4 separate regions of the Homo sapiens genome follow, and regions 2, 3 and 4 are each linked to region 1. The links are contacts of gene promoters, found by promoter capture Hi-C in human tissues and cell types (Jung and others, 2019). All regions are on one chromosome and are shown on one strand. Each heading gives the region's core, a stretch centred on a gene start or on the middle of the fragment in contact. The rest is flanking DNA. Distances are from core to core; before and after follow the strand shown. Region 1 holds the start of NCF4 (neutrophil cytosolic factor 4). Region 2 holds the start of TXN2 (thioredoxin 2). Region 3 has its middle 5.4 kb from the start of IL2RB. Region 4 overlaps CACNG2 (calcium voltage-gated channel auxiliary subunit gamma 2).

Region 1 (6,541 bases), core at 1-2,500:
TGTTCCCCGCGTAGGCACACACCAGCCTGGCCTGTCTCTGGTGACCCCCTGAGTGGCCTCCACGTAGGTAACAGAGGTCACCTGCTGTTCCAATCCAGGGGGTGCAGGGGCCAGGCTTTGCGTCCTCAGGGCCCCCGCAGCTTAGAGCTCAGACCTGGCTACTGAGGAAAAATTCTGAAAATGCTTCCCAAGCGACGAGGCTAGATGCTGGTGAGGCCGTGCTCCAAGCCCCAACCTTGCCAGTCACTCTCTGTGACCCTGAGTAAGTCTCTTATCCTCCCTGGGCCTCAGATTTCCAATCTGTACAATGGCAAGGTTGGACTAGAAGAATCTAAGACCTTTTCCGTCTCAAAGATCCACCCATTCATTCATTCATTTATTCATTCATTCAGCAACATTTATTGAGCCCTTGGTCCTGGTGCTCAATAGGGATGAGCTACCTCCTAGTGATACAGCAGCGATCAAAACGGACACAGCCTCGTGGAGCTTGCTTCTCATGGGGGAGCCAACGTTCAAGAAAAAATAATAAATGAGCATATAATATTATTCCTGTAATATAAGAACCAGGCAGAAAAGGGAAATAGGGCAAAGGGTCAGACAGCAATGAGGTAGGGGCTGTCAGGAAGGCTTCTTGGAGGAGGTGACATTTGAGGCAAGCCCTGATTAGCGGAAGAACAAGCCAGATTCTGTGAATTCTGTTTGCGCAGAAGATGGAAAGTCATTGCTGATCACCATGTGAAGCAAAGGGCCCCAGCCTGGGACCCAGGACACCTGCATTCCTCTCCAGACACTGCCGGTCACTCGTTGTGTGACCGTGGGCAAGTCACTCCCACTCTTGGAGCCTCAGTGTTCTCATTTGTGTCTGAGGGTGGTGAGCCACAGCTCAAAGTTTCGTTAAAGCAGTTCTGAGAGGTTGCATTTCTGAGTATTTGGGTTCTGACTCAACCCCAGCCTCTCATGTTGATCAGGGACTGCAGAAGGACTGGCCTTTGTCCCTAAGGCCTATGAGGAGCAGTGAGAAGGCCCGGGGGCGGCCACACCCCGGCACTCACCTCTCGGCCCGCAGCTGCTGGGCCACAGCCATGGTGGGCGATGGTCCCAGGGAGCAGGTGGAGAGTCTCGCCCAGCCAGTCCCAGGCTGAGTTCACCTCTCACTTCCTCCAGCCACCCTGCGTCTCGTCTCAGCCTGTGGTCCTGGGAGTCCCCAGGAGCTGCCTTTGGGGAGGCTCAGGCCTGCTTCTCTCCAGTCTGGCAGAGGCTCCTCCTCCAGGCTCTCTGGGCCTAGCCTGTGGCCCACACTTCCTCTTACCTCACCTCCCAGCTGCACAGAAATTGAGGAAGTGGACCCTCGGGTGCCAGGTTTGCAGGAATCCACTTCCTTGATGTCAGTCCTTGGCGCCAAGCCTCAGTTGGGTATCAGAAGCCTTGCTCCATCAGAGATGGGGTCCCAGCCATCAGGGTGTCTTGTGACCTTGAGGAGTCACTTATCCTCTGGCCCATCAAGCCCCACCTTTATTCTCTTACTGCCAAGCCTTTGCCCAAACTCTTCCCCAGGCCTAGAATGCTGGCCTCCATTTTCCTGTGATCTCTTAGGCCCAGAGTAAATGCCACCTCCTCCAGGAAGCCCTCCTGGTTCCTCTGGCCTCTGTCTTCCTAGAGTGTGAAGTTTGGTTTGCGCGCCCTGGCACTCTGGGATATCCTTTCCTCATCCTTAGATCTCCATGCCCAGCCAATCCTCTTTCACAGGGCTGCCAATCAGAGTGAGTTTCACCCTCCCTGCTTAAACTCTCCTGCCCCATCACCCTGTGCTCAGGATAAAGTCCAGAGTCCTTGCCCTGCCTGCCTCCAATGCCCCTGAGGCCCTGCAGCCTTCCCCAGCCTCTGCTCCTGAGCTCCCTTTTTCTCACTGGCCTCCTTTCCGTTTCTAGAATGTTCTAAGACGTCCGCCCCAAGGCCTATGCTCATGGTGTTCCCTCTGCTGGAAAAAGCTCTTCACTGCCTCCTTTGCATCTCAGCTTAGAAGCTACATCTTTAGCGAGGCCTTCCCTGACCACACACCCTAAATTAAGGCCCTCCCTACTACATTCTCTCACAGGTCCCTGCACGTCTACTGCAGAGCACTCATAACTATTGTCATCTCACATTTGTTTGTTTATCTGTATGTTTAATGACTGCCTCCTTGGCTAGCAGCGTGCCTGGCACATTGCAAGTGCTCAACCAATATTCAGTGAATGAATGAAACGCTGCCAGTCAGTGACTGCAGCTCCTAACAGGTATGGGTATTTGATTCTGAAGGGACTTCTCTGAGAAGAGGTCCACAGGAGTCATTGGCACAGCCACACCCAGTAACTCCCTGCCAGCTACACACGCTCACACACTCGTATTCATACATGCAGAGCAGAAAGTTGTTTTAAACTACTTTAAACATACAAGTCCCAGCTAAAAAAAACAAGAAAGCATAATTTTTAGGTAGGATCAAAGAGAGGGGTCAGGAATCTATACCAGGGGGAGAGGAACGTGGCCAACAGCCCATGGGAAAACCAAGATTGGATATGCATTGTTGGGCTGAGATTTTAATGCCAAATCTGGGACTAGGTACAGGCCACAGGTCCTGCTGTTAGCAGAAAGTCAAATCTGAGTTCTCAGTGTAAAGTGGGTGTCAGAACTGATTATGGGAACAGAGTTTCTCAGCCATCAGCCTAGAGTCACGGCAGGAGCTGAGGTCCTCTCACAGTCCATGGGTGGAACAAGGGACGTGTGTACCAGATCAGCCTCAAGCCTGCCCTCTGCACTGGTGTAAGGCCCCGATATAAGCTACCCACGTGGTGCAGAAATCCTAAGCTGAGGCATTATATAAAAACAGCTTGGAGTCAGTGACTCTGCAGGGCCTACTCTGTCAACTCACAGACCAAAACTACAAATCGTGAGCTGTGAAAGACAGCTCAGAGCCTCCACATCATGAAGAATTCACACCCAAAGAACTAGAAATAATACAAACAATAAGTCTGATGAGTTGCTGGTGTCTCGGGGCTCCCAGGCTAGAGGATGAAATGAAACACAGAGCAGGGTTATTAGTGCAGGTGTCTGTAAGTACCAACAGGTGCAAGCACACAGCCATAACTGAGGGAAGAGGAGGACATTGGCCTACAGTTGGTCAGGAAGGACAGGAAGTGGCAAAACAATTTTAGCAAGCAAGCATGATACAGAATTTGTAGGTGATTGTGTAAACTGTGTGTGTAGTATATGCCTATAGTTGGAAACACATATTTGTGTATAAACACATACAGCTCGCATAGGCAAGTGTAAGTGCATTTGTGTTGTGTCTATAAAAGACCATATAATGTGTATAGTGGTGGCATTGTGGCTGTGAGAGAATGTGTTTAGATGTTTAGGTTGCAGTCGGTGACAAATGAGTATAAACACAAGTACATTTATAATAGGTGAACTCAGGCAAGATAACATGTCCTTTTTGAACCTTTCTTCTTCACCAATCTGTGAAACAGTCTTGCCTAATGGAGTTGTAGTAGGAATTAATAGAAAACTGTATAAAAGTGCCTAGACACATGGACATTTCTTATTCCTTTTTTAATCGTTTTCAGTGTGTATATCTGTATGTGTGTGTTTCAGGTGGGTTAAGCCCTCAAGTTTACCTTCCCAGGTATTTTCATGGCTTGCCCTCCAAACCCCGGCCCCCCCAACCCCCCAAGAAACCTCCTGTGGCCCTGACTCAGCCACTGGGAAGCCACCTCTGCACCTGGGGGACAAAGATGTCCAGGGAAGAGCCCGCGACGGGCCAGCTCTTCCCCTCCTCCCCTCTTTCTCTCCTTTTCTTCTGTCCCTGCCCGTGGTTCTGCTGAATACAGGTATTTCTCTGTCTCCTCATACACAGAACGCTGCTGCCAATTTTATGCCCGAGCTCTGATACAGTGTAATTTGAGGCCAGGCACTCTGTCAGCAATGGGCTCCTGTCCTGCCGCTGCAGCAATGCCTGTACCTTCTACTCCCACTCCAGAACCGGGCTCTTGCTGCTCCTGCTGCAGGGGGAGAATGAGGCAGAGGGATGACCTGGAAGAGGAGCCAAGCTCTTCACACGTTCCATTAAACAAGTATGGATGGAATCTTTTTTGGATAAGTGCAAAGAAATGCCTGAAGTGACCTCTCACTTATGGAGACCTGATTTTTGATAACCTCCACATCCCACAGCCTGTGAATAAACCAAAAAAAGAGAAAAGCCATTGAATGGTTAGAATTGATAGCTCAAAGTCTATGCATTGACACTGGCATATTTTATTCACAGAAGAAATATAAAAGGAGCCTGGTCCTCTCTTCCTGCCAACTCAAGAACTTGAAGCAGTGAGTTAGGGGAAGGAAGAAAATTACCAGGGGCAGCCAAATGCAAGCGACAGTTCAGTGACAGCCTGACAATGATAAAGACCATGGAATACCAAAAAATATATATGTTCTCAAGAACTCAAAAAACAAATACCAGAGGCCATTCAGAGAAGGGCATCTCTGCATAACACCACTTACTAATGCCCATTCATAATCACATCTCCAGGAAAAAGTCTAATACACCAAGACCATGCCTGGGGGATCCCCAGAGCCTGAATGGGGACTGGATGTGCGAATCACAAAAGTGCACAGCACTTTTCAGTCCTTCCTCATGCAGGTGCTGGGGTATACAAGATAAACCATAGCCCCCATTTTGGACATGAGGAAACTCTCCTTTGAGCAGCCAGCGGCTGGGGCTGAGAGCTCCAGCCATAGGAACTGGAACTCTGTGATAGGGAGGAGGTGAGCCTCTTCTACAGGACCAGGAGATACCCTTGAGAGCTCATTATAGGTACTCAGCAAATCCCCACTGCCTACATCAGCCACTCTCCAGGGTAAGAGAAGGAAAATCCCTGATTGGACAGTGTAAGATTCCTGGGGATCCCTCACACACTGAATTCCCCAATCTTGACCCACATGTGTCTCCCTTTATAATTTATGAGGGGAACTTCACTGGACCTCCTCCCTGAGCCATAAATAGCCATCCCTGGCATGCCACCCAGGCAGGGAGGGTGTAGACGTGGCCAATTAGACAGCAAACTCCCTGAAGGCAGAGGGTCTTCTCTTCTCTGAGAAGCCCTGGCACACGGCTGAGCTGGGTCTAAACCTCGTGTGCCCTCGCTGTGTCACGCATTAGTTGTGCAAACTCTCCGACCATTGTTCAGTTTTCTAAATGGAGATAATATTTGCCTCTACATTATTAATTGGAGAGAAAAATTGCAGGATTATTGTATTATTCATTTCCAAATGTGTTGAGAACCTACTATGTGCCAGACACCCACTGTGTGCTAGGCCCTAAATGAAACACAGACACTGTTCTTGAGACACGCACTTACTAGAGGTGTGTTAACTAAGGGAATGAATACCAGATGTTTAGGACAGTGGCTCGCGCATAGCAGGTGGTCAATAAATTCTAGACGTTAATGTTATTGACGATCATTCCTTGCTGTGGCTTGGTCCCTCCCTTTTCTGTCTCCCTCTGCTGCACAGCTTGGTCCTCTCTGTCATACAACTAACGTTACATTCTAACTTTTTCCCGCAATCTGTCATCCGCTCTCATCACGCGGGGGCACCGGGACGCGCACTTCCCTGGCGGAACCGGCTCTGCGCTTAATCTAAATGTTGACGGGAACAGACCGCCAGGGGGCGCCGCGATCAGCAGCCGAGTCCCCGCTCCGCAGCGCCACCTAGAGGAGGTTGAATGCTATAAGCCGCACTAGAAGGACCCGGCCAAGTCGAGAGTCAAGTTGCAGCTGGCCAGGCAGAGCGCGCAGCCTGCTGGCTCAGACAACCTCTCCAGACAGCCCTATCAGCCAGAATCTGAGCTGCACTCAGGGGAAGCTTCCCCCAGGGGCTAAGAATCCTGAATCTCCTCTCCACCATCATAAATACGGTAACAGCCAAGTCACTCTGAGAGTTGACTGTGTAACCACCCCTACACCGTGAAATTGCCAGGAGGAGCACGAGAGCTAGCATTTGCAAAGCCCTTAGTACAGTGCCTGGCCCACAGCCTGGCTTGGTCCATGTTGGCTCTGATTGTTGTTACCTAATCCTCACACCAACCCCCATAAAATAGTGGTATTCTTATCCCCACCGGGAGATAAGGAAACCCAGGCTTTACGGGATTAGGAAAATAAACCAAAGCGGCTTGCTTAATGACCGGCAGAGTAAGATTTGGACCTCACATCAGTCTGGCTTCAAGACCCACACTTAATAACTGCTGTACTGGCCCTCATTCATTCATTTATTCACTCCACAAGCATTCATCTAGTATCACTCTGCACCAGGTAGAAAGGATATTGAGATGAATTCAGCACAACTGCTGCCCTCAGGTAGCTCACACTGCTGTTGAGGTACATAAATAAACACACATGCACAACACAGGCACATATACACATGCACACGCAGGCACACATACACATGCACAAACATGTATAAACACATACACATGCATGCACACACAGGCATATATACACATGCACACGCAGGC
Region 2 (6,541 bases), core at 1,471-3,970, 380 kb after region 1:
AGCTGGGGCTACAGGCGTGTACCACCACGCTTGGCTAATTTTTGTATTTTTAGTAGAGATGGGGTTTCACCATGTTGGCCAGGCTGGTCTCGAACTCCTGACCTCAAGTGAACTGCCCGCCTTGGCCTCCCAAAGTGCTGGGATTACAGGTGTGAGCCACCACGCCTGGCACCATGTTTGTTTTTTTAAAAAGCAGATCACCACCCACTAAATTAATTTTGCAAACCCACTGACGTCCATATCCTGCAGTTTGAAAAACACTGCAATAAATATTGGTAGGAGGTAGAAGTTTTACCCTTAGCCCAGGCTGCCAGTCCTGGCTTCCTTCCCTTTGCCTCTCAGCTGTGCCCTGAGCCTGCTTGTGACTAAGCCAGACCCAGGCCAGCTCAGCTCTAGCTGGACAGAGGAGCCACCATGTAGCTGAGAGCCCTTTTGTAGCGCGCCGAGAGCTCAGCCTTCTCTGTGTCTCTCAGGCTTTCCCTGCAGGAGTCATCAGGCAGCAATGATGTGGATTCTGTCTCTACTGCAACCCTCAGCCCAGCTATGAGAAAGGCATTCTTCCCATTGCTCAGATGAGAAGCCTGAGGCCGATCAGGGTGAAGTGACTATGGCATAAGGACAAACAGGACTGGTCCGCCTGTGAAATTCAGAATGTGAATTAGGCAGGAAAATTGGCTCTCTAGAAAATACTGTGGAAGTGCTGAATAGGATTGATAGGTGGCTGTGGAAAAGAAAGTGCTAGAGACACAGAAAACCGATACAAAAATGGGCAGGGCGGCCAGGCGCGGTGGCTCACGCCTGTTATCCCAGCACTTTGGGAAGCCGAGGCGAGCGATAACTTAAGGTCAGGAGTTCGAGACCAGCCTGGCCAACATGGTGAAATATAAAATTTCTGTACCAAAAATATAAAAAATTAGCCAGGTGTGGTGGTGCTCGCCTGTAATCCCAAGTACTTGGGGGGCTGAGGCAGGAGAATCCCTTGAACCCTGGAGGTGGAGGTTGCGGTGAGCCAAGATCATGCCACTGCACTCCAGCCTAGCTACAGAGCAAGACTCCGTCTCAAAAAAAAAAAAAAAAAGGCTGGGTGCAGTGGCTCACGCCTGTAATTCCAGCACTTTGGGAGGCCCAGGTGGGCAGATCATGAGGTCAATAGATCGAGACCATCCTAGCCAACATGGTGAAACTCCGTCTCTACTAAAAATATAAAAATTAGCTAGGCGTGGTGAGGCACGCCTGTAGTCCCAGCTACTGGGGAGGCAGAGGGAGAAGAATCCCTTGAACCCAGGAGGCAGAGGTTGCAGTGAGCCGAGATCGCGCCACTGCACTCCAGCCTGGGCAACAAGAGCGAGACTCTGTCTCAAAAAAAAAAAAAAAAAAAAAAAAAACTTTGATCAACAATTTGGAAACTGCCTGTTCTTTTAAAAACGCTCTTTCAGCTGCTGCTAATCCGAGTGTATATTCAGGACAACTTGAATCTCTGCTCCGAGTTGCAGTCTTCGAACTTGACCCAAAAAAACTCCCTGCTTAAATTAGGCTCGCCTCAGTTTTCATTTGTTTTCCTTTAGGCGGACACAGACGAGGGCCACTTAAAGGATGGCCCCTAAACTCCCGGTTGAGTTCTTTTACATATAAAGGGCATCATGCCTTTGAGGAGCTTAGCTTTACATATTAAATGGAGAAACAGAACCTGTCAACATCTGTAGGAAGTGGACAGCGCCAGTTATAAACAGGAGGCCAGGCAAGGTGGCTCACGCCTGTAATCCCAGCACTTTGGGAGGCTGAAGCGGGCGGATCACTTGAGCTCAGGAGTTCCAGACCAGCCTGGCCAACATGGCGAAACTCCGTCTCTACTAAAAATACAAAAATCAGCCCGGCGTGGTGGCGCGCGCCTGTAATCCCAGCTACCTGGGAGGCTGAGGCAGGAAAATCACTTGAACCCGGGATTTGGATGTTGCAGTGAGCGGAGATCACGCCACTGCACTGTAGCCTGGGAGACAGAGCGAGACTCTGTCATTAATAAATAAATATATGTAAATAAAATAAAGCAACAAGAGTTTGCAAAATCCAAAACCACGGGGACTTCTCAACTGCCTTTTCTCCCTTAAGTACCCTCCATTGCTACCCCTGCTCCATCACCTCCTCTTCCGGTCCCTCCTCTAGGGCCCGCCCACCCCTTCCGTTTCCGCCCCGCCCCGCCCCCGCCTTCGCCCAGACCAGGGCCCGCCCGCCTCTTCCAATCCGTTCCCCGACGGCCTGCCCATTGCTTCCGGTCCGTAGCTGAGGCCCCGCCCCTTCAACTGTGCCTCAGCCCGCCATTCCCATTGGCGGAAAATCCCAGACGCCCCTCAAATTGGAGAGGGACAGATGGGCGCTGTGGCTCACGCCCGTAATCACAACCCTCTGAGAAGCCGAGGCGGGCGGATCACGAGGTCAAAAGATCGAGACCGTCCTGGCCAACGTGGTGAAACCCCGTCTCTACTAAAAATAAAAAAATTAGCTGGGCGTGGTGGCGCGCGCCTCTAGTCGGGAGGCTGAGGCAGGAGAATCGCTTGAACCCGGAAGGCGGAGGTTGCAGTGAGCCGAGATCGCGCCACTGCACCCCAGCCTGGCAACAGAGCGAGACTCTGGCTCAAAAAAAAAAAAAAAAAAAAAAAAAATTGGAGAGGGACGCTCTTCCGCCTGCCTGTACCCGGAAGTGACGTTATGTACGTCCCCCCCCGAGGAAGTGACGACAGGCGTGCCCTTGACAGGCAGGGAGGGCTAGGCTGTGCATCCCTCCGCTCGCATTGCAGGGAGGTAGGAGCCCTGTGGGGGTGGCTCGAGGTGGTGTCGCGGCTGAGGCATGCCGCGAGCGCGTTCCTGCGCAGGCTGGCGGCCGGGCGGGCGGGGGGATCTAGCTCGCCGGAGAGCCAGGGTCCCTGGTGATGTCCGATTTTTCCCAGTTCCCTCCACACATGTCCCTTCTTTATTGGTTCCCTCCAGTACATGTCTCTTCGTTTTTGGTTCCTCTCACACTCTTAGTTCCTCCTTGAATTGTTGCGTTTCATCTTTTCAGACGACCCTGGGTTCCAGTGTTGGCTGTCATTTAATAGCGGGGTTACTTTGGGCATGTCACTTAACTTACTTGAGCCTCGTATTCCTTCCCTTACTCGCAGTGTGGGCAGTACAATAGCAACTTCCTGGAAGTTGCTGTAGGAAGACCAATAATGTGTGTAAGGTACTTGGTCCTTACATACATTATTAAATCTGTTGGTTTCTTCCTCCCATTCTTCCGTTATAATCTAAATCCCGATTTCTTTTTGGTTGTGAAGCCAGTTTTCCTGTCCTTCTGGTTTGCCTAGCTGTTCCTTCCCTTTGATTCTCATTGCTTCCTCACTTCCACGCTACAAATCTTACATATGATTTCCTTGCATTTTGCTTCCAACTCTGCCTCTTCCTGAGCCCTGAGTACTCCCCAAATCTTTTTCTAGTGTGTCGACTTCCTTTTGTGTGCCCCAGTTCTTCTGCCTCTTTCCCTCACAGATGGCTCAGCGACTTCTTCTGAGGAGGTTCCTGGCCTCTGTCATCTCCAGGAAGCCCTCTCAGGGTCAGTGGCCACCCCTCACTTCCAGAGCCCTGCAGACCCCACAATGCAGTCCTGGTGGCCTGACTGTAACACCCAACCCAGCCCGGACAATATACACCACGAGGATCTCCTTGACAACCTTTAATATCCAGGATGGACCTGACTTTCAAGACCGAGTGGTCAACAGTGAGACACCAGTGGTTGTGGATTTCCACGCACAGTGAGTATTGGGGGTCCACAGAAGACTAGGGTCCTACTTGTTCAAGTATTTATTGAATGCCTGCTGTGTCCCACGGCCATGTTCTATGCTGCTCATATGTAGACTCAATATACAGACTGGTCAGGCCCAGTCCCTGCCCTCAAGGGGAATGCAGTCTGGTGGAAGACAGACAAGTGAACAGTCTGCAAAGCTGACTGTTAGTGCTGGGAAACACATGTTCTGTTTCTCAATCCCCAGAAAGCTCAGCGTCATCTTTAGCATGGACCAGAGTTGGAAAAATATGACTGTCACCTTGCTTTTGGTGTATACCAGTTCCTGGCCCTGCAGATAAGCTGATGTTAACATCCTGCCATGAAAACCGCAAGAAGGGCTGGCAAAAAGTTATCAGTGTCGGCCGGGTGCGGTGGCTCATGCCTGTAATCCCAGCACTTTGGGAGGCCAAGGCGGGCAGATCACCTGAGGTCAGGAGTTCAAGACCAGCCTGGCCAACATGGTGATACCCTGTCTCTATTAAAAATACAAAATTAGCTAGGCGTGGTGGTGTGTGCCTGTAATCCCAGCTACTCGGGAGGCTGAGGCAGGAGAATCACTTGAACCTAAGAGGTAGTGTTTGTAGTGAGCTGAAGATCGCGCCATTACACTCCAGCCTGGGCAAAAAGAGTGAAATTCCATCTCAAAAAAAAAAAAAAAAAGTTATCGGTGTCACTACCGTGGTGCCCAAGCATACAGGGCATAGGAAGGAGTTTCCTTTCAGTGCTATCTGAGTTTGCTTTAGAGATATTTAAGTCCCTCTGGCCTTCTGAATTTTAGCCTGGGCTTTTTCATTTCTAGATCTTTGGGGCCTGGCTAGACACCCAACTACACAAAAGCTGGACAAAGCCCTCTGAATGAGGCATCCTGGGAGAAACCAGTGTAGCATAAGTTAAAAATTCAGGGGCCTTCAGGTCGGACGCAGTGGCTCACACCTGTAATCCCAGCACTTTCAGAGGCCGAGGCAGGTGGATTACCTGAGGTCAGGAGTTTGAGACCTGCCCAGCCAACATAGTGAAACCCCATCTCTACCAAAAATACAAAAATTAATCGGGCGTGGTGGCGGGCACCTGTAATCCCAGCTACCCAAGAGGCTGAGGCAGGAGAATCGCTTGAACCTGGGAGGTGGAGGTTGCAGTGAGCTGAGATCGCGCCATTGCACTCCAGCCTGGGTGACAGAGGGAAACTCCATCTCAAAAAAAAAAAAAAAGAAAAAGAAATTGAAGGGCCTTCTGGTCAGGTCTCTGACAGATTGTTTCGCTGGCTTTCCAGTTGTTTCTCTGACTCACCCTGTGGCCTTGGGCAGGCCACTTGATATCTTTGTGCTCCCTTTCTTCACTTGTAATAGGAGATAAGGTCTTGCACACTGGGTTTTTCAGTGTTATGAGTTGTTTTTGTTTTTCTTCTTTTAGAGACAAGGTCTCACTCTGTCACCCAGGCTAGAATGTAGAGTGCAGTGGTGCGATCACGGCTCACTGCAGTCTCTACCTCCTGATCTCAAGCAATCCTCCCACCTTGGCCTCCCAAAGTGCTAGGATTACAGGCATGAACCACTGCGCCAGGCCTGAGGGTTTTTTTTCCTTTTTTGTTTTTGAGACAGAGTCTCATTCTGTCACCCAGGCTGGACTGCAGTGGTTCAGTCAGCTCACTGCAACCTCCACCTCCCGAGTTAAAACAATTTTCCTGCCTCAGCCTCCCAAGTAGTTGGGACTACCACCCAGATAATTTTTTTGTATTTTTAGTAGAGACGGGGTTTCACCATATTGGCCAGGCTAGTCTCTCAAACTCCTGACCACAGGTGATTCTCTCCCGCCTTGGCCTCCCAGAGTGCTAGGATTACAGGTGTGAGCCATTATGCCCGGCCTATTTTTCAGCATTTAAAACCGTCAGGCCTGGCTGGGTGCGGTGTGCACCACCACACCTGCTACTCAGGAGGCTGAGGCAGGAGAATTGCTTGAACCCGGGAGGCGGAAGTTGCAGTGAGCCGAGATCGCGCCATTGCACTCCAGCCTGGGCAACAGAGTGAGACTCCATCTCAAAAATAAATAAGTAAGTGCTGAGAATAAAATAGGAGTTGTCAGCCAGGGGTTTGTGAAAGGTGGAACTGTCTTGGCCTCCTGGTGTAGTGAGCATTCCAGAGAGGCCTTCCGAAATGAACAATAAATGGGATAATGCCTCATTTTGTTCAGTAAGGAAGTGGGGTGGTGTGAGTTGTTCATTCAGTGCCAGGCACTTTCCTTGGTGCCACATACATAGAGATGACAGCACCAGGCCTGTCCTGGATGAGCTTCCCCAGCGAGAGGGGAATACCTATGATCAGGGCAGTGATAATGGTCAACTCAGGGGCTGTGGGATCAGAGTAGCCTGTGGGTGAAATAAAACACTTTCTCTTTTTTTTTTTTTTTTTTTTTTGAGACAGAGTCTCTGTCGCCCAGGCTGGAGTGCAGTGGCACAATCTCAGCTCACTTCAACCTCTGCCTCCCAGGTTAAAGTGATTCTCCTGCCTCAGCCTTCCTAGAAGCTGGGATTACAGGCGCACACCACCACTCCTGGCTAATCTTTGTATTTTTAGTAGAGACGAGGTTTTACCATGTTGGCCAGGCTGATCTTGAACTCCTGACCTCAGGTGATCCGCCTGCCTCGGCCTCCCAAAGTGCTGGAATTATAGGCGTGGGTCACCGCACCCGGCCAAAGAAAACACTTTCAACACAGCTTTGGGTTGTGAT
Region 3 (6,541 bases), core at 1-2,500, 300 kb before region 1:
TATTTTTTTTAGACGGAGTCTTGCTCAGTCACCCAGGCTCGAGTGCGGTTGCGCAATCTTGGCTCACTGCAACCTCTGCCTCCCGGGTTCAAGTGATTCTTCTGCCTCAGCCTCCTGAATAGCTGGGACTACGGGGTGCCCACCACCACGCCCGGCTAATTTTTTTTTAATTTTTATTTTTGGTAGAGACGTGGTTTTGCCATGTTGGCCAGGCTGGTCTCGATCTCCTGACCTCGTGATCCGCCCGCCTCAGCCTGCCAAAGTGCTGGGATTACAGACATAAGCCACCGCGCCCAGCCCTCCCCTTCCTATCTTGGCATAGCTACGTGGCATTCCACTGGATGGAAGTTCCCTAATTTGCTCATCACCTGTCCCCTATGGATGCGCATTTTGTTGGCCTCGGGTCCCGTGACTGCAGGAGTTACTTTGTACACACGTGTTCAACATGGGTCACTCTGTTGATGAGTTTTAGGTGTGGAATTGCTGGGTCATGTGTCAGAGATGTTGGTAGATGTCAGATTGCCTTCCAGGGAGATGCTTGAAGCCCACGCCAGCAGGGTGACTCGCCTTTTCAACCTGCCTTTGATGGCAAAGCTTTTGAAACTTCAAATATGCTATCCTGGTGTTTTTAATGTGTATTCTCAGGACTCTTCAGGGTATTAGGGACTTAGCACTTTTGATTCTTTCTCTTTTCCTTTTTTCCTTCCTTCCCCTCATATTGACACTGTCCGTATGTCAGGTAATTTTCTGGGTTCTGGAGTGGTGTGGATGAATCCCACACTGTTCCTGTTGTCCAAGAGCTCCTGGTGTAGACTCATAAGCAAGGCTCTGACATGAGATATGGTAACTGGCTTGTGCCCAGAATCTGCCTTGGCCAGAATTGGAGATCAGGGAAGGACTGGTTTTAAATCGGGGAGCTGATTAGTCTGAGTAAGTAGGGTGGGAATATGGTGACCAACTTTGTCCTAGGAATATCACTGTAAATCTTATGTTCTGGAAACCCCCCTCAGTCCCAGGCACAGTGGGACAGCTGGTCACCTTGGCGCGATCCTGGTAAGGAATGGCATGGTTTGCACAAGATAGGAGCTGCTCAGGGCGCTGGTGCTGGTGTGGCTATGAAGCAGGCAGCTCCCGGATGAACAGGGAAGAACGTGGGGCTTCAGGTCTGGAGCCTGGGGGGCTGGCGTGGAGGTGGCTGCTGTGGCAAAGCAGAAGTAAGGGTGATGGCTTGGAAGGAGGGGGTGAGGGAGGGAAGGAGTCAGGGAGAATGGCCACAGTCTGTCTTGGGGACTGGTGGGTGGGGCGCCTCCAGTGAAGAGCAGGTGTCAGCAGAGGGGCATGCTCGGAGGACAGCCCTCAGGAAGTCGGCCGCTAGCCTGCTCTTTCTCCTTGTTCTGCTCTGGCCCCTCTGTGGGCCCCTGCAGCTTTGTGATCCTCATTTGTCATGAGGGGTACCCCACAGTCTGATGGGGACTGGGCGGAGGGTCAGACACCAAATTATGTATACCATAGTCCTCCTGACCAGGGACCAGGACTCAAAACCAGGTCACTGGTGAGGCCTGGCACTGTGGGGGCAGGACTTTTTTTCCAGCTGGGGACTCGGCTACCTGCTGACTTTCCAGAAGACAGGTCACAGCACCGAGCAGGGGTGGGCGGAACACAAGGACTTGAGGGTGGGTGACAGTGTCAGCTGGCTGAGCCAGGGAGGGCAGGAAGGGAGGTGGCCCTGGAGATACTGGAGGTCTTCACAATGGCAGAGGACAGGCGGTGGCAGAGACAGTGAATGGCACCCCCAAACCTGCTCTCCCCTGCCCGTGTGCCCTCTACTTATAGCTGGCTACATCTCCCAGCCTCCTCTGCAGCTTGGTTGGCTATGTGACTCAGGCGTAGCCAATGGGATGTACATTAGAAGTGGCTACGGCAGCTTTGGGGAAGGGTCCTTAACAGGCAGAGGCAAGCCCTCCCTCTCTCCTTCCTTTCCCTTCCATCTGCAGGAACGCAGAGGTGATGGGTGGAGCTTGAATAGCTCTCTTGGTCTATGAGGAGATGGGAGAAGGATATTGAAGAGACCCTAGTAGCAAGCCAGATTTAGCTCAGGATCCTGACATCATAAAGCCACCCCACCTAGCCTGGGTGGCCTCCCTTTGGACTTCTTTTATGTAAGAGAGAAATAAAGCCCTCTCTTATTTTAGGTCACTGTTTTCTTCTTCTGTTCTCTTTGGACACACGCAGCTGAACTTCATCCTAACTGGGACACTGTTGTACAGTGGAGGCGGTGATGGCAGCACGCGGGTGAGCTGAGGTGGAAGTTCAAGGGGTCTTGGTTAACACAGGTCAGAATGATGGCAGGGTGCAAGTGCAGGCCTGGGTGTGGGACTGGTATGGAGCAGTTCAGAGGGAACAGGAGGCTGGAGGCTACAGTGTGGACCCTGACATCTCCTGGGAGGCGGAGTGGAGAGGGAGGCTGAGCGCAAGGGCCAAGCACTCCAGTGAGCAGAGGGAGGACGGGTAGGGCGTTTGGCAGATACCAGGACTGAGGAGGATGCAGTCTGGCTTGGCCCCAAAAAAGACAGCCCAAGGACATCAGGGCTGGAAGACCCCAATATGCCCTTGTCCCATGGCCCCTGTGAAAGAGGGGTCTGGGTCCAGTGGTGGGAGGGCTGTGGGACTGGGTGCATGGAAACAGAGGGTATGAGGCGGTTTGTTCCCAGTGGGACCCATGAAGATGCAGCGCAGAGGGTCAGGTGGGGATGTGGAAGACGTAAGAGAAGTAGTTATAGGAGCAAGGCGTGGAGCTCGTGGAGGAGGCTGGGTCCAAACCCCAGCACTCCTGAGACCCAGGTCTGGGTAGGCCCGAGTGGGCTCTGTCAGGGCTCTGCCATCAGAGAAGCTTCTGGATTACATCTCAGGTTGCCTCAGAGAGAATCGGATGTCCTCTGGGACAGACCTAGGTTCTAATCCTGGCTCTGCCACATTCTGGTAGGATGACTCATGAGGCCTGGTTTCCTGGCCTGTAAAATGGCAAGGGAAGAGCAGGCTCAGCATGCACAAAGCCCTGACAGAGTGAGAAAGCACAGGAGGCAGGGTCAGAGATGAAGATGGGGCAGTCCCTGTAGGACATGTGGGTCAAGACTGAGAGTTTGGATTTTACTGTGAATGCACTGGGAAGGTTTGAGTGTGTATGATGGGGAGTGGCTGGGGGGTGAAATGACGTGATTTGAGTTTGGGAAAGGTTGCTCTGGCCGCTGAGTGGAGAACAGACCAGAGAGTCAGGAGTATTAATAGAAACAGGGAGACCAGGGCGGAGGCCACCATGGGCCTGCTGAGGTGGGAGATGACACGGCTCTGAGCAGGGCAGGGGCTGAAGAAAGCAGGTGCACCTCTCTGCACACCCCTGCTGGCCACCCATGCCTCTGGGCTTCTGCTGGCGTACTGTCTCACCCCTCCTCACCTGGTTTTATGTTCAGCTGTAGCACCTGGGGGACAGACTGTATGAGTCAGAGAAAACAGAAACAGCAGTCCCCAGGTCTCAGAGGCCCAACAATAGAGGTTTATTTTTCATTCAAGTTATAGCCCAGTGTGAATTGTCTGAGGAGGGGTGAGGGCCTGTCCTTCAAGGGACTCCAGCCCCTCTACCCAAAACTTCACTGGATTCTGGCAGGGGAGGGGAGAGAGAGAAAGAGATAGAGGGATGGCCGGCCGTGGTGGCTAACGTCTGTAATCCCAGCACTTAGGGAGGCCAAGGCAGGCAGATCACGAGGTCAGGAGATCGAGACCGTCCTGGCCAACATGGTGAAACCCCATCTCTACTGAAAATACAAAAATTAGCTGGGTGTGGTGGTGTGTGCCTGTAATCCCAGCTACTCGGGAAGCTGAGGCAGGAGAATTGTTTGAACCGGGGAGGCGGAGCTTGCAATGAGCCGAGATCGCGCCACTGCACTCCAGCCTGGCTACAGAGCAAGATTCCGTCTAAAAAACAAAAAAAAAAAAAGAAAAAAAAAGAGAGATAGAGGGATTAAGAGACACAGGAGATCATAGGTGAGATTTTTTTTAGGCCTAGAAGTAGAATAAATCACTTCCTCCCACATCCCATTAGCCAGACTTGGTTCTGGAGCCCCAGCTCACTGCAAGGGAGGCTGGGAAGCAGACCCGAGCTGATGCCGGGAGGAGGGTGCACGCCATGGCCTGGGGACCCATTCCACCAGGTTTCCCTCCTACGTGCTCCCACAGGCCATGAGGTGTTACATAGAGGATGTGAAGGAGAATCATTCTCTGCGTAGCCCCCTCCCTGCCTCTCCATCTGAGGTGTTCTGGGCTAGGACCCTTGACAAAAGAACAAACCGGCTCCATCCCCTGTCTCCTGGGGTGGGAGACTCTGTATGTGGGGGCTGCACCATCCCCCATTCTGCTCCCCACTTTCCTGGCTGCTGCACATCTCAGGGGCACGAGGGTGGAGAGTGGCCTACCTCCCTCCCTTGGTCCTACCCCGCTGGCCTGGGCTGCGCGCCTCAGGCTTCCTGTGTCTGACCTGGTCTTTGGGGCATCTGGGGTGCTCAGTAAATGTTTGTTGAATAAATAAAAGAAGGAAAGCAGGATGAGGAGGAAGAAGAGTCTTGGGCAGTATGTGCCAGGCAGACTGATGCTGTCTCATGGATGAAATAGCTGTACGCAGCTGCTCCTTGCAAGCTGGGTCTGTGACTTCTGGCTTTGGCTGCGGATGCATTTTTCTTTTCTTTGTATGTGTGTGCTTTTAAAGTTTTAACTGAATTCATTTATTTGGGGGCAGGAAATATGTTCATGCCATACAAAAGGGTCTATAGAGAAAAGCGTCCTTCCTAACCCTTCCTCACCTGGCTCTCCTCCCTGAGACAACCGGCGTTCCTAATTTCTTGCAAAGCTTCTGGGAATATTTGAGGCTTAATAAATGTTGGCTGTTATTCTCATGGTTGTGGCTGTTGTGTTTAGTATCCTCTCCTGCCGCCAGACAGCCTTACTCTAGAGGAGAGGGAAGGGCAGTGTGGAAGGAACTGGCCCTTACAGCAAGCCTGCAGTGCGTGGTCACATTAAATGCTTTATACACACCTTCTTGTCCAGTTCTCCCTTCATTTGGTAGGTCTGCACACTGAAGCACAGGGAGGCCTAAGTCACAGCCTCAATCTCCAGTCCTGCCCCTCCTGGGCAGCAGTGCTCCACGCTTCTTCTTTTCCAGCAGCGGGCTTTGCACATGGGAGTTGGGCCTGATTCTCTTTTTGGAGTCTTGAATTCCACTTTTCTCACATTTGCAGAGCTGCCGTCTCTGCTCTTCTCTCTCTTCTTCTCAGAAGAGGTGGCAGGCTGGGCGCAGTGGCTCACACCTGTAATCCCAGCACTTTGGGAGGCCGAGGGAGGTGGATCACCTGAGGTCAGGAGTTCAAGATCAGCCTGGCCAACATGGGGAAACCCCGTCTCTACTGAAAATACAAAAATTAGCCGGGCATGGTAGCACGTGCCTGTAATCCCATCTACTCGGGAAGCCGAGGCAGGAGAATCGCTTGAACTTTGTGGGCAGAGGTTGCAGTGAGCCGAGATTGTGCCACTGCACTCCAGCCTGGGTGACAGAGCTAGACTATGTCTCAAAAAAAAAAAAAAAAAAAAAAAGAGGCCACAGCTTGCAATAAAACCCCTCTGAAACAGGGAATCAGGAAAGGGAAGAAGCAGAGCTGCTGCTTCTGGGCTCTGAGGATGGAACTTCACAGGGTCTATGGGGCTGTGATGTAGCACGTAAATAGATGTGCATTTTTCTAAAGACCAATCCATAAGTTTCCATCATTTAAAAAAAAGAGCCCTGAGCTGAGCTCCCACGCCACCCTTCTCCCCCGCCAAAAAAGGGGGAGAAGGGTTAGGAACCATGACTTGAGAGGAAGAGGAAGGTTCTAGAATGTTCAGTAAGTGACCATCAAATTGTTCACAAAGACCTGATAGTCATCTCTGGGAAGTGCTAGCTAGAACAAACAGACAAGAGAAAGAAGTAAAGGGCATCCAAATTGGAAAGGAAGAAGTCAAATTATCCTTGTTTGTAGACGATATTATCTTATATTTCAAAAAGCCTAAAAACGCCACCACAAAACTATGAGAACTGATAAACAAATTCAGTTAAGCTGCAGAATACAAAATCAACATACAAAAGTTAGTAGTATTTCTATGTACCAACAGCAAACAATCTGAAAAAGAAATCAAGAAAATAACTCCATTTGGAATAGCTACAAATAAAATAAAATACCTAGGAATAAACGTAACCAAAAAAGTGAAAGATCTCTATAATGAAAACTATAAAACGTTGGTGCAAGAAACTGAAGAGGACACAAAAAATAAAAAGATATTCTATGTTTATGGATTGGAAGAATCAATATTGTTAAAATGTCCATACCACCCAAAGAAATATACAGACTCAATGTAATCCCTATCAAAATACTAATGACATTCTTCACAGAAGTAGAAAAAATAATCGTCAAATTTATATGGAACCACAAAAGATGCAGAGTAGCCAAAGCCATCCTAAGCA
Region 4 (6,541 bases), core at 2,461-4,960, 270 kb after region 1:
CAAACCATCCAACCCAAGCTGGTGGCTGCGCTGTGCCCCAGGGGGCTGGGGTTCCAGCCAGAAACAAGCCAGGCATGGCCCACCCTCCCTGAGGCCTCCCGAATCCCTGCCGTCAGGGAGGTATTGCCAGGAAAGCAAAAAGCCAGGAGCAGCAAAGGTTGAAAACACAGAGAAAGCAGCTCCCACTAAACCCTTCCTTTGCTTCACTTAAAAAATTACTCAGACAGCCTCCTCCCCACGCCTCAGCTCGCTCCACCGTGTCCCCTCCTGGCTCCAGAGCTGCTCTTTCAGCTTCTCATGAATATGTGGAAAATAAAACAGAGTCTGTTCAGCCCCTAATGACCAGGTTTATGAGGAGCTTATTGTATCTAAAGAAACAAGACAGCAGTTGGTGTGAGATATTAATGTGCTTTTTACAAAGCTGATGAAACCTCCTCTTAAACTACTTAATACCTGCAAGCTGCAATTCCCAGCCTGACATGGTAAACTCCTTGAGCCAGAGCTGTGCCAGCCCACGGCACAGCCCTTGGCCTTTCCGCCTCAGCGGGGCCTGAACTCACTCAGCCTGGCGGTTGGTGGGGCACTGCCACTCTTCTGGGATGGAGGTTCCATGGAGAGTCATGGTTGTTGAGCCCCTTAGCTGAATAACCCTTTATAGTTCATGGTGGGAGAGTCTTCCCTGCATCCCCTTTCCTCTGGAAGCTCAAAGCCAATGCCTGAGGGGACAGCGGGCAGTGAGACCCCTGCACTCCACTCCAGCCATCACCCACCCTCACCCTCACCCTCACCCACCCAGCCCTCTGATGGGACCAGTCCTTTTGCAAATCTCCAATCCCACCAATTTGTCACGTCTTTGTACCAGCTGACTCCTCACATAGGATCACCCTTCATCCAGTGGTGTGCTGGTACATGTTTAACAATCAGCTCCCTGGGCTGGAGGTGGGGAACTTGGTTTGTAGCATTTGCCGTGGGTTCCCATGGTGTGAATACACCTACCACGGCTGATTTCAAACTGCTAACGAGAGCTGGGAAGACACTGGTGATGAGCTCCCTTGAGCAGGGGCGAGCCGGCCCGCACACTGCTGGCTTCGGGCCCTCTCTCAAGTCCTGTTACTCCCAACTCTGCTCTGGGAAACCTTCTCCCACCCCCAGGGACAGTGTGTTCCCTCCTATGTCCCGCACTATCCTGACTGCTCTTGCTAGAAAGCCCTTCTCAACCCTCCACCACTTCCTCATCACGCCTACACACACAGACACATGCACACACATAGACACACACACACCCATGCACACAGACTCACATACCCATGTACACACAGAGACACACACAAAGACACATGCACACACAGACACATACATGCACACACACACATATGCAGACTTCATCTCACCCTGCCCAGTGAGCACACAGTAGGCATTCAAAACTACCCACATACAGACACAGACACACACAAACACACATGCACACACAGACACACACATGCACACACACACCCATGTACACACAGGCACAGACACACAAACACCCATGCACACACACACACATGCACACACACACACCGATGTACACACACAGACACACATCCATGCACACAAGACACACACACAGACACACACACCCATGCACGCACACACATACGCACACACACCCATGCACACACAGACACACACACATGCACACACACACAGACACACACACAGACACACACGCGGGCATACACGGACCCCTCCCTGCTTCATCAGGCTGACTTCTCCACTTTGTGTCAGCTCAGGCACCTGCTCCTCCTCAGGAGGCCTTTGTCACCCACACACTCCCTCGCCTGGACACACCTTCCATCTGTGTGCCCCAGACACGCTCCACTCTCCTCTGTCATCACACACATCCTCTACACCACAGCGTGTGTTTTCTGTCTGCCATCATAGACTGCAAGTTCCTTGAGGACAGAAAGTATATTTTTCCCCCTCTGTTCTCAGCAGGTTGCATGGAGCGTGGCATACAATTGGTGCTACATAAATGATAGCTGAACAATTGTGCTGCCATAAGGCCTCATACCTCCTTCTAATATAGTATGTGAAGGATTGCACTCTAGTAAGTTCTGTACTATCTGTCTTTGCCCCTAGAATGTGAGCCTGGAAGGCAGAGATGAGATTAGATTTTCCTCTACCATCCCAGTGCCAGGCACTTGGCCCTTAGTCTCTACCACAGGGACAGAGGGTGCCTAGGAATGAAGCTAGTTGGGAGGAAAGTCAGAGATGGAGAGAGGTTCCAGATTTTGGAGCACCTGGATCCATCTGTGCCTGAAGCCATCACAACCCCTGGGGTGGATTACCACCAACCAGAAGGAAATACAATGGAACCCTAGGCTGGCCTTAGGGAAATGAAATCTCATTCATTTCATCACCACTCACCACTCTCCCCTTACTGGAGTGATGTCTGTTGACGTAGATGTCCTATGAAGTTCAAATTTCACCACTAATGCTTGAGTGCTGCTAGTGCCCCCTCCCCTCCTATACCTCTCCCCAGCACCACCATTAATCAGACTGAATCCAGGGCCCACCGAGCTCCAAGTGCTCCTGGAGACCCTGTGCTCCTCCAGCTGACCCTCACAGCCTCATGGCCACCAGAGGCGTTGGGACCAATCGCACAGTGACCTGTATCCCAGTTTACCCCATCACTCCTCCCTACTCATCACTTGTCCCTCAGGGCTGTGTGTCCTCTGATCTGGCTGGATCTCTAACTCCCCCGCCCTCCTAAATCCTTGCCATGGCACCTTCTAGAATTTAGGTCACAGTGCCAGCAGAATCCCCCCATTCTGTCCTTGCTCTAATGGAAATCTGGCTTTCCCCGAAGGACACCACCGCCCCTGCAAACTCTCACTGTCGAGAGTGTTTTACTGCTCACATCCCAGGCCTCCCTGGGCCTCATCGACATTTCCGGTCCATTTCCCTGCCTCCTCCCTAAACTCCCTGCCTCTGTGAAACACATCCCAGCCTACCTGTCCGACTCCCTCATGGCCGCCGCCATTCAGTCTTTGGGGAGCTGAGCGCTGGCTCACTGCCTTTGCCTCCAATGCTGCTCCCGTTATCATCCTTGCAGATTCCACAACCAGGAAATCAGCCCCTCCAGTCCCTGGCCGTGACCCCTTCACTCCAACCTGATGTGCCGGTGCTGCCTCACTGGTTGTTAAATATTGAAATACTGTTGTACCGATCAGTCTTACTATGTCAGGGAAGCTGGCTGGGGGAAGGGGTGGCTCCTGCATTGGGCGGGGCAGAGAGAAGAGAAGGGCTGGGACCAAGGCTCCATCTCCTCTCCTCGCTCCCCAAGGCTGGGTTAAGGACTCAGCTCTGTTCTCAGGTTCTATAAACTCCAAGGCCCGCCCCAAGGATGGGGGCAAGAGAAGAAGAGTCTCCCTACTGGTCCTGACTGGTGGGACTGGGCTGGGCTGGGCGCACACCACTGCCCTGCCGATGAGAGCCTCTACCCCTCTCACAGCCTCCCACTACCTTCCCATTCCCGGCCCTGACCTCCTGGGGCTGCTGGGCACAGAGAGGTCCTCTAGTCGAACCGTAGAGGACAACTTAGGAGAAGATTCTGCACTCGCCGAGGTGGAATGACCCTTACTCTAACAGGGAAGCTTGGGGAGCATCTGGTGTGGTTTCCTGTGTCAAAGCATGGTCCAGTCAAGCCATCATTTAGCTCATAACAGCCTCATCATCAAAAGATCACACCACTCATTTCTAAAAACCAATCGGTGATTTGGGGCTTATTAGAATAATTTGATGAATCATTTGCACTTCAAATTTTAACCGGGTAGGCAGTTTCTTAATATATACTCGATGTATATAGAAAACAACAGCGAATGTTGTAGTTTTGCCTTATCTATTAATTTGTGTGACCTTTCCAGTGCATACTTGAAGATCATCCCTACCTCTGCCTGCCCCAAGCCACCTCATTCGGGGTCTTACCCTTGCCCTTGGCATTTCCAATATCCACACCCCCTCCACTCTCTGTCTTTTGCATCCCACTCTCTGGCTACCACGTGCCACCGTTGCAGCTCACTCCCATGCACCCCCATTTCAACAATGCTTTGACCCCACCCCAACCCCAGGCTCAAAAGCATTGACTGCCCTCCCCGCTCCACCCCCCACCCCCGCCTTTGCACTGCCTCACTTGCCCTTCAGGACCTCATTTCCCTGTTTACCCAGCTTAGACTCCATATCCATCCTCATAATCCCTCCCATTCCACCCTCTCCCTGTTGCACTCACCTCACAAACCTCCTCCTGGTTAGACGCAACTCTCCAGCTAACTGCACCCATGCCACAAATGTGGCCAGAGAAAACCACAGAATCTCAGAAGTGACCTTCAAGCCACTGACACACACACTTCACAGCCTGGTCCACTGTCTCCCACTCTCGCTTCCCTTCCCCTGTCCTCCCGTCCCCAACCCTTCCTCACTCTCAGTTGATGATCCTGCTTCCCATTTCGTTGGGAAAATAGAAGCAACAGAAGAGAAGTGTTACACCCTCCCACCATGTCTGCCCATCCCCAGCACTGCACCCACGAGCTCTGCTGTCCCTCCTGGCACAGCACCACCCCCCTTGTGCTGTGTCCTGGGCCTCATCTCCTTGCACAGTGCACCTGTATTGCTCCCCCATCTCTGCAGGTCATCCCTTCTGTCCTCCTTTCTTTTACTTTTTTATTTTGATTTTATTTTCAAGACAGAGTCTTGCTCTGTCACCAGACTGGAGTGCAGTGGTGCTATCCTAGCTCACTGCAGCCTCGAACACCTGGGTTCAAGGGATCCTCCTGCCTCAGACTCCCAAGTAAGCTAGGACCACAGACACATACCACCACATCTGGCTAATTTGTTTTTATTTTTTGTAGATATAGGGTCTTGCTATGTTGCCCAGGCTGGTCTTGAACTGCTGGGTTCAAGGGATCCTCCTGCCTCAGCTTCCTAAAGCTAAGGCTGAGCCACTGCCCCCAGCCCCTCCCTTCTTCCCTCTCTACTAGAACATTCCCACTAGTATCATACAGGCTTTAATATCTCCCCCCTTAGGCCGGGCGCGGTGGCTCACGCCTGTAATCCCAGCACTTTGGGAGGCCGAAGCAGGCGGATCACGAGGTCAGGAGATCGAGACCACAGTGAAACCCCGTCTCTACAAATAATACAAAAAAAAAAATTAGCCGGGCGTAGTGGCGGGCGCCTGTAGTTCCAGCTACTCTGGAGGCTGAGGCAGGAGAATGGCGTGAACCCGGGAGGCGGAGCTTGCAGTGAGCCGAGATTGTGCCACTGCACTCCAGCCTGGGTGACAGAGCAAGACACCGTCTCAAAAAAAAAAAATATATCTCCCCCCAACATAGAGCAGCCAGCACTAGCCAGCTAGTGGAGGACACCCCAGTAGCACAGTGCAGGGAGGCAGAAGGAGGTTAGGAGAAAGAGGCAACAGAGGACGTGGTGGGAGTTCAGGCAGCAGGACCAGCATGCATGTGCCACGGTCCTGAGGTAGGAGGGAGCATGGCAGGAAAGAAGGCAGAGATGCACAGGGAGGGAGGAGGTGGGTGGGAGGTGAGGCCAGATGTGGAGGTTGGGGGTCAGGCTTTGTTAGAGATGTTGAGCTTTTCCCCGACAGCACTGGGAAGCTGGAGTGTTTCCGAGCTGGAGGTGGCATGATCAGATTTGCATGTACAAAGGATCACTGTCATAGCTCTGTAGAGAAGGATAAGAGTGGGTGCAAACTGATGAGTGGGGAGGCCGCGGCAGCCATCCAGGGAGCAGGGATGGTGGCCTGGTAGTGGGCGGTGCTGTCTCAGAGACATCAGGCAAGTTTGAGACACTAAGGATCTAATACAGACAGGACGCCCTGATGGATGGAGCCTGCAGGGAGGAGGAAGAGATAGATGTCAGCGCTGACAACTAGGCTCAGGCTTACACAAGGGAACCCTGGAGAAGCATTCGCCAAGCTAACTGGGGCCTCCAGAGTGCCAGGCTAGAGGGAAAGATCAGGAGTTCATGTTCAGTGCCTTTAAAACATCCACCAGGAGATGTCAAATAGGCAGCTGGATACCCAGGTCCAGGCCTCAAGGAGAGGTCTGGGCCACTGATTATCTCGCACGGCCTCTCTGTTAGCATCTCCTGAACCCTGCTTCTGTGCCAGGCACTGCGCTAGGAGCCAATGGTCCAAGGATGAGTGAAGCCCAGGCTTGCACACAAGGAGCAACTAGGCTCCCCGTAGAATGTGAGCTCCTGTTCCTGCGGGGAACAGGAGCGGGTGTGGCCCACCAGGATGCAGCTGGGGCCCTGCTGGGTGAAGCTCTGTCCTCAATTTGTGGGACGCCTCAGGGCATGTCAGTACTGCTCTCTGAGCCTCACTCCTGCACAGATTCTTTATAAAGATGCCTGGCACCGGCTTGCTGAAATATTTGTCAGATTGAATTGAAAGAAAATGAGAGTGCTTTGCGAAGTGCTTTTCAAATACACTGATTTGTAATTTTAACAATAGGGAGAATTTGTTATCCTCTTAGCAGCTGGTATG

The links. Contacts are between HindIII fragments. The study calls those that stand out against the background at their distance.
Region 2: a contact is called between the fragment with the promoter of TXN2 here and the fragment with the promoter of NCF4 in region 1, in 1 of the 25 tissues and cell types used here (thymus).
Region 3: a fragment that was not itself captured here is called in contact with the fragment with the promoter of NCF4 in region 1 in 3 of the 25 tissues and cell types used here (dorsolateral prefrontal cortex, lymphoblastoid cells and spleen).
Region 4: a contact is called between a fragment that was not itself captured here and the fragment with the promoter of NCF4 in region 1, in 2 of the 25 tissues and cell types used here (bladder and thymus).

What each region holds. Positions count from the first base shown.
Region 1 is chr22:36,855,715-36,862,255 of GRCh38, reverse strand. NCF4 (neutrophil cytosolic factor 4) reads right to left here and starts at 1,250. Exons shown (of 10, transcript NM_000631.5): 1 at 1,053-1,250. The coding sequence starts at 1,084. All of the region lies in intron 1 of NCF4-AS1 (NCF4 antisense RNA 1), which reads left to right. The HindIII fragment of the contact is 13,239 bases long and covers 1-6,541 here.
Region 2 is chr22:36,477,819-36,484,359 of GRCh38, reverse strand. It overlaps TXN2 (thioredoxin 2), which reads left to right and starts at 2,720. Exons shown (of 4, transcript NM_012473.4): 1 at 2,720-2,796; 2 at 3,523-3,785. The coding sequence starts at 3,523. RefSeq lists an enhancer at 1,344-2,290. The HindIII fragment of the contact is 22,621 bases long and covers 1-6,541 here.
Region 3 is chr22:37,152,026-37,158,566 of GRCh38, reverse strand. It overlaps a transcript of IL2RB not described here. Among named protein-coding and RNA genes, the nearest start is that of IL2RB, 5.4 kb to the right of the region's middle. The HindIII fragment of the contact is 5,288 bases long and covers 1-3,894 here.
Region 4 is chr22:36,589,851-36,596,391 of GRCh38, reverse strand. All of the region lies in intron 1 of CACNG2 (calcium voltage-gated channel auxiliary subunit gamma 2), which reads left to right. Among named protein-coding and RNA genes, the nearest start is that of EIF3D, 64 kb to the right of the region's middle. The HindIII fragment of the contact is 7,923 bases long and covers 1-6,541 here.